2 separate regions of the Homo sapiens genome follow, and region 1 is linked to region 2. Evidence: promoter capture Hi-C in 16 types of primary human blood cells and fetal thymus (Javierre and others, 2016). All regions are on one chromosome and are shown on one strand. The core of a region is centred on a gene start or on the middle of the fragment in contact, and the rest is flanking DNA. Distances in the headings are between cores, read along the strand shown.

The links. The method cuts DNA at HindIII sites, captures the fragments that hold promoters and counts their contacts. A CHiCAGO score of 5 or more calls a contact.
Region 1: a fragment that was not itself captured here is called in contact with the fragment with the promoter of HBS1L in region 2 in 3 of 17 cell types (activated CD4 T cells, erythroblasts and non-activated CD4 T cells); the score reaches 8.7 in activated CD4 T cells.

The regions. Positions count from the first base shown.
Region 1 is chr6:135,147,708-135,150,407 of GRCh38, forward strand. No RefSeq gene overlaps it. Among named protein-coding and RNA genes, the nearest start is that of MYB, 32 kb to the right of the region's middle. The HindIII fragment of the contact is 7,399 bases long and covers 1-2,700 here.
Region 2 is chr6:135,053,428-135,056,236 of GRCh38, forward strand. HBS1L (HBS1 like translational GTPase) reads right to left here and starts at 1,395. Exons shown (of 18, transcript NM_006620.4): 1 at 1,222-1,395. The coding sequence starts at 1,264. LOC124901405 (a long non-coding RNA gene) reads left to right here and starts at 1,466. Exons shown (of 2, transcript XR_007059775.1): 1 at 1,466-2,059. RefSeq lists an enhancer at 1,554-1,603. The HindIII fragment of the contact is 2,164 bases long and covers 1-2,096 here.

The DNA of each region.
Region 1 (2,700 bases), core at 65-2,564, 94 kb after region 2:
ATGGAAGATTCACTAACATTGGGCCCACATCCTGCATGGCAGCAAACAGTCAAAGCTAAGTAATTGCTGTTTGCTTGAAATGTGGCATGTTCTCTAGTTCTCTACAATCTCCACCCCTTTTCATTGCATCATTCTTAGCTGGTCATTCATTTTCTTTATCTGATTTGTCTCCATAGGGTCACACACTTTATAATTCCATATTGTTCCCTCATGCTAGTTCCTCTTTGGGAAATGTTCTGAGTTTCTCTCCCATATGCTTCTACTAGTGCCAACCCAGTATCTCCTCCTCTGTGAAGTCCTTCATTTGTGATCCTTTCTCATTCGTCTGTGATCCCTGATACACACTGTTAGCATAGGACTGACCACAATATATCAACATTCATTATAAACAACAACTCCCTGACTACTGGTCTCCTCAAGTACAAGAATCTCTGTTACTATTTATCTCTGTATCACCAATATTTAGCACTGATGATAATGAATGAGTAAGTATACAAGACAGTCATAACGTGATATAGAAAAGTCTCAATAAATTCCCATGACATTGAAGGGAAAGTGACTATTTTTTCTGAGTCAGGCGTCAATTGGGTTAACAGTGGTTGAAAGTGGAGCAAAAAAGTAGGGTAGCAATAAAGTTAAGAACACAAGCAGAATCCTTGCGTAAGAACAAATTCAGAAAGCAGTACATACCTTCCAAATACAGATAGGTAAAATAGAAAAAGAAGAAGAGAGGAAGGAGAAGGAGGAGAAGATGAAGGAGAAGAAAAGGGAGAAGAAGATGAAGACAACATGAGGAAAACTGTGAAGGAAACAGAGACATGAGGAGAGTATTTGTATTTACATTCTGTAGCTAAAACCATTTTCAAATGAAGTCGTATTGTTCTTACAATTAAGGAAAGTCAATTTCAGGAATTGTTTATAAACCAATTCCTCTACATTACAGAGATAAGAGGTTCAAATTGCCAAATGTATGTTATGGAAGGAAAAACAAAAACAAGGAGAAAGTAACTCCCATTTTTTTAAACCTTTCACTAAAGAATGAAGATGGGGACCAGGGGAATAGTGAACCCTTAACATCTGAAGGGTTTGACTGCTAGGGAGACCAGAAGTTAACTGTATTTTCCTAAAGCAACAATTAGCATTACAGGGTTTTAAAATCTCTTACGTTTGCATCTTAAATTAATTCTAGTAAGCAACAAAAATATGAAGGAACTGGTGAACAGTTGTTGACTGAATGAGGCACCTGAAAAGTAAAAATTATTTGCATGCATCATAACAACAAAACGAATACCCTGTGCTAGTAAACAGTCTTCTGGTGTGTGTAAAGCAGTTCTTTACTACTCTAAGAGGTACACGTGCTCTCATCTTCTTAGAGCACCTCCTTTAGCTTCTAAGCGAAGTACTCTGACAAATGCATGCCTACAGGTCTTTAAATGTATCCTTCATACCACCTATTATTAATGTACTCTGCCTTCTTTTCTATTAGCTGCTTAAAAAGGAAGAAGAAAGAGGCATGGAGCACTTGACCTAGAAGGACAAGTTGCCAATTTTTTAAATGAAAGAAAGGAAGTGTAGTGTCTGCAAGGTGACAGGTTTATGTGGGAGAGTTATTTTTGAATGACTTCAAGGTACCTCATATCGTTCTGGTATAACATCAACTGAGTGGTGTGCTCTTAATTTTTAAAAGTTTTTTCTCTCTTACAAAATCCTGTTGAAAATAGAAAACATGCACATGTAAGTATAAGCTACTAATTTCCTCAAGTGTCTTCTATGGAGTTACAAAACTCATGATGAAATAACAGCCTCTTTAAACACTGTGTTCAATATCTCTGACTTCAGTTTGTGCCGTTAGACGGTCCCCAGCATCCGAACATTCGTCCCCAATCCCATGCCCCCACCCCCAAAACCTCTGCTTTATAAGCAAATAAGACGTAGAAATGCTAAGAGGAAGAACTGAAATGGTTTCTGGGAGGAAGAAAGTATGTCTCCACATTATCATTCTAAACCATCTATGATCACGGTCAAATCCTTTCCTGTCACCAGTTTTTAAAATTAAATGTTTTATTTTACTTGAATGAACAGCAAACTGTATAGGTTTCACAGTCTATAAATATATATATTTTAAAACTGGTTCCTTGACTCTGTTTTCTTCATCCTAGGGATCTAAATTGCTTCCTTTGGAAAACTGACTAAAATTTCACCAGGACAGTTAAGACAAAGTAACATTAGTTGTAGTTTTATTTTTTATAGTTATATGCAATAGCTATAACTTATTATAGTCTGATTATAATCTTCTATTCCTGTTCTTTGCCATAAGCGATTTTGACTTTTAAGAGACTTTTGACTTGTAAGAAGAATGCAAAATTTATTATCTATTTTCAATAAATTAGTCAGAATAAGATCTTACCTATTATTTTCTTTTTTTTTTTAGGCATCCATTAATTTTATTCAGTAGCGAAAAGTACTTGGAAATAAATTTTGGAATTTTTCAGTTCATGCCTTATTTGGTACTGGATATTCTGCAAGTTTATCCAGGACTTCCTGGACTTTTTGTATCCTGTGCTTACAGTGGGATGTTAAGGTATGAACTATGACTCTAATAACACATGATTTCCCGGTTGTATCTTTCTTTTTTCTTTCTTTTTTTTTTTTTTTTTAAATTACACTTTAAGTTCTGGGATACATGTGTAGAACACGCAG
Region 2 (2,809 bases), core at 145-2,644:
ATGAATGAATAATAAATAGGCCTATTCATGTACTTTATATTTGCAAAAATCTCTCTCAATCTAAAGTCATTTCTTAGGTGACAATGGTCCACATGCAATACCATCCACTGCAATATTTATTTAAAAGGGCCTCCATTCTAAAGTAACCACCAGAAAATTCACATGTTCTAGACGGACTGAGGTCACAGGTTCCAAATGGAGAACAGGGTGTTAGCTGCCCTCACTCTAGTTAAAGCATACTGATGTTCTATAATAATCTACTGGGGTGCCAATGACAATCACCAACATATTAAGCACTACATGTTCTGCACTTCGTAAAGCATAGTTCTTTATTCTTCTCCTGCATTAGTTCATTTTTGTTTATATTTTTAGTTTATGTGATGCTTGGTGATGCCTATAGTTATCTACTGCATGAAGAGGGATGTGCTCCTCCTAAAAATAATTCTAACTCCTGTTAACTCCTACAGAACATTCATACAGACATTTTTATTTCATTTTTTAATATCAAAAAGTCCTTTCCTATACACTCTTTCCTCTAGTACTGCCGTTTATTTACATTTCAAAATACATTTATATCAAGCATTACCAGCCAAGAACTAAGTATAAACTTCAAGATCCATCTGATCGACTCATTCTTTGGGCCTTTTTAACATGTGTCTTTTCTACCGTCTCCTAAGTTTCCACTTTGAAATTCGTTGAAAAATAAATTAGCGCAAACTGATTCTGCACTAGGTATGTATGGACATACACAAAAGGTTTACCATGTAAATCTAACACAGGTACACGTCCGTTGAATGTATTAAGTCAATCTGTGTTTTACAAATAAGCAACGTTTCATGGACATTTCTCAAAGGGGATCTGGGAGAGAGGAGCTAGAAGCAGGCACGTTAGTGCCCAACATGGGAGGAAACAATGGAAGAGGTGATAATGCTTACGTGCCTAAATATCACCGGATCTCAACCTCACCAATATCCTACCCATATGACGCTATGCAGCACCTCCCCCTCCCCAAATAAAATCAACCCCAGAGGGCAGAAATCATGACTTAAAAACGACGGCATTTGAAAGCACTAGAAGGCCTGTTATATTCCCCAACTGGGGCTCTCCCAATCCCGACAGGGCAACACTGACGAGAAACTCACAGATTGAAGTGGATGCCAACGGGCTAGGATCCCAGCTGTAGCCGGGAAAAGAACGTCCCGGCATGACCCTGCCACCTACCTTCATCGTAGTTATAGCCTCGAACATTCCGATGCCGGGCCATGACGGCGGAGAGGGCGTTTGCCACAGCCCCTTAACTCCTTCCAAAACACTCCGCTTAGATACTGATAAGGCGCCAACTGCAGCCTGGAGAACCCCTATGCGCCATCTTGGCTTCCCGCAGGCCTCTGCGCCGAGCGCCTGCGCAAGCGCGACGTCTTAGCTGTGCACCGCGCGACGGCAATGCCTCAGGGTCACTGTCCGCCTCCCTGAGGGCGCATGCGCACTGCTGTGCATGGCGGGACGAGGGGAGGGAGCGTTTGGGAGTGGCCCCACCCAAAGGTTGGGCGACGGAGGGGGATGGGGAAATCCGCCGCCTAGAATTGACTGGTTTGGACTAAATGTTGCAAGCGGGGAACCTTGAGCTACCTACGCCAGCGTTCTGGATTATTTTCCAAATTTGGTTCCTGATAATCTGAGAAAGCTATGCGCTCAGTAAGAGCAGGGACCTTGTTTTATCAAACTTTGATCTTTCATTAAGCACACAGTGGGCATTCAACAAACTTGTGTAAACTTGGAATCAGATTTAGCCCAGGCCGGTGCGGTGGCTCCTTCCTGTAATCCCAGCACTTTGGGAAGCCTAGGAGGGCGGATCGCTTGAACTCAGGTGTTCGAGACCAGCCTGAGCAACATAGCGAGGCTCCGTCTCTACAAAAAATACAAACACTAGCCGGCCCTGTGGTGCAGACCTGTAGTCCCAGCTACTGAAGAGGCTGAGGTGGGAGGATCCCCTGAGCCCAGGCGGTCGAGGCTGCAGTGAGCTGAGATCGGGCCTCTCCATTCCAGCCCGGGCGACAAAGTGAGTGAGACCTTATCTCAAAAAAAAAAAGAGTCCAAGCTTTAGAGAAGGAAATAAGGCTATTTTTAAACGGGTATATATTATTAAATTGAGACCCTGGCTATATTAGGTCACCCTGCATTCATATAATTTACGACTTCATGTATTCACTCCGTTCGGCATTACTATCCCTAGTAAACAGCGATTTGCCCTTAGCTATGTAAACGATTTTAGCTATATAGACGATATTTATCAGCATCATAAAGAAGGATTCACTGAACATTCATTGAAGACATAATTGTGTGTAACATTGCGAGTATTAAATATAGCTTTTTAGACATAGCACTGGCCTTAGGTGGTAATGCTGAATGTTGTTGATGCATGAATCTATAACCTGCTATTAAATGTCCTCATTTCTCAGAACATAAAGTTAATAATGCTATATAAGAAACCAACCTCATTATACTGAACACCACTTCAGTTTTAGCTTGTGTTTTTGAAATGATGATACTTCACATCAAAGGCAAATGTTGAGTTCTAGAGATAATTAAAAGCTTCCTCAGCTTTTTGCTATGCACAATAGAAAGAAATAAGAGTAATCCAAATTTAGTTTATATTTGTAAGTGGCTTGGAACGTAATTTATTCATGCATTTGAATGTGTTTGACTACAAAAATAGTTGTTTAATGTGGCTCCAAAATAAAAGTTTACAGAAAAATAGAGATAGTTGCTAATGTTACATGGCTTAAGTGTTTTTATTATTTTACACCCT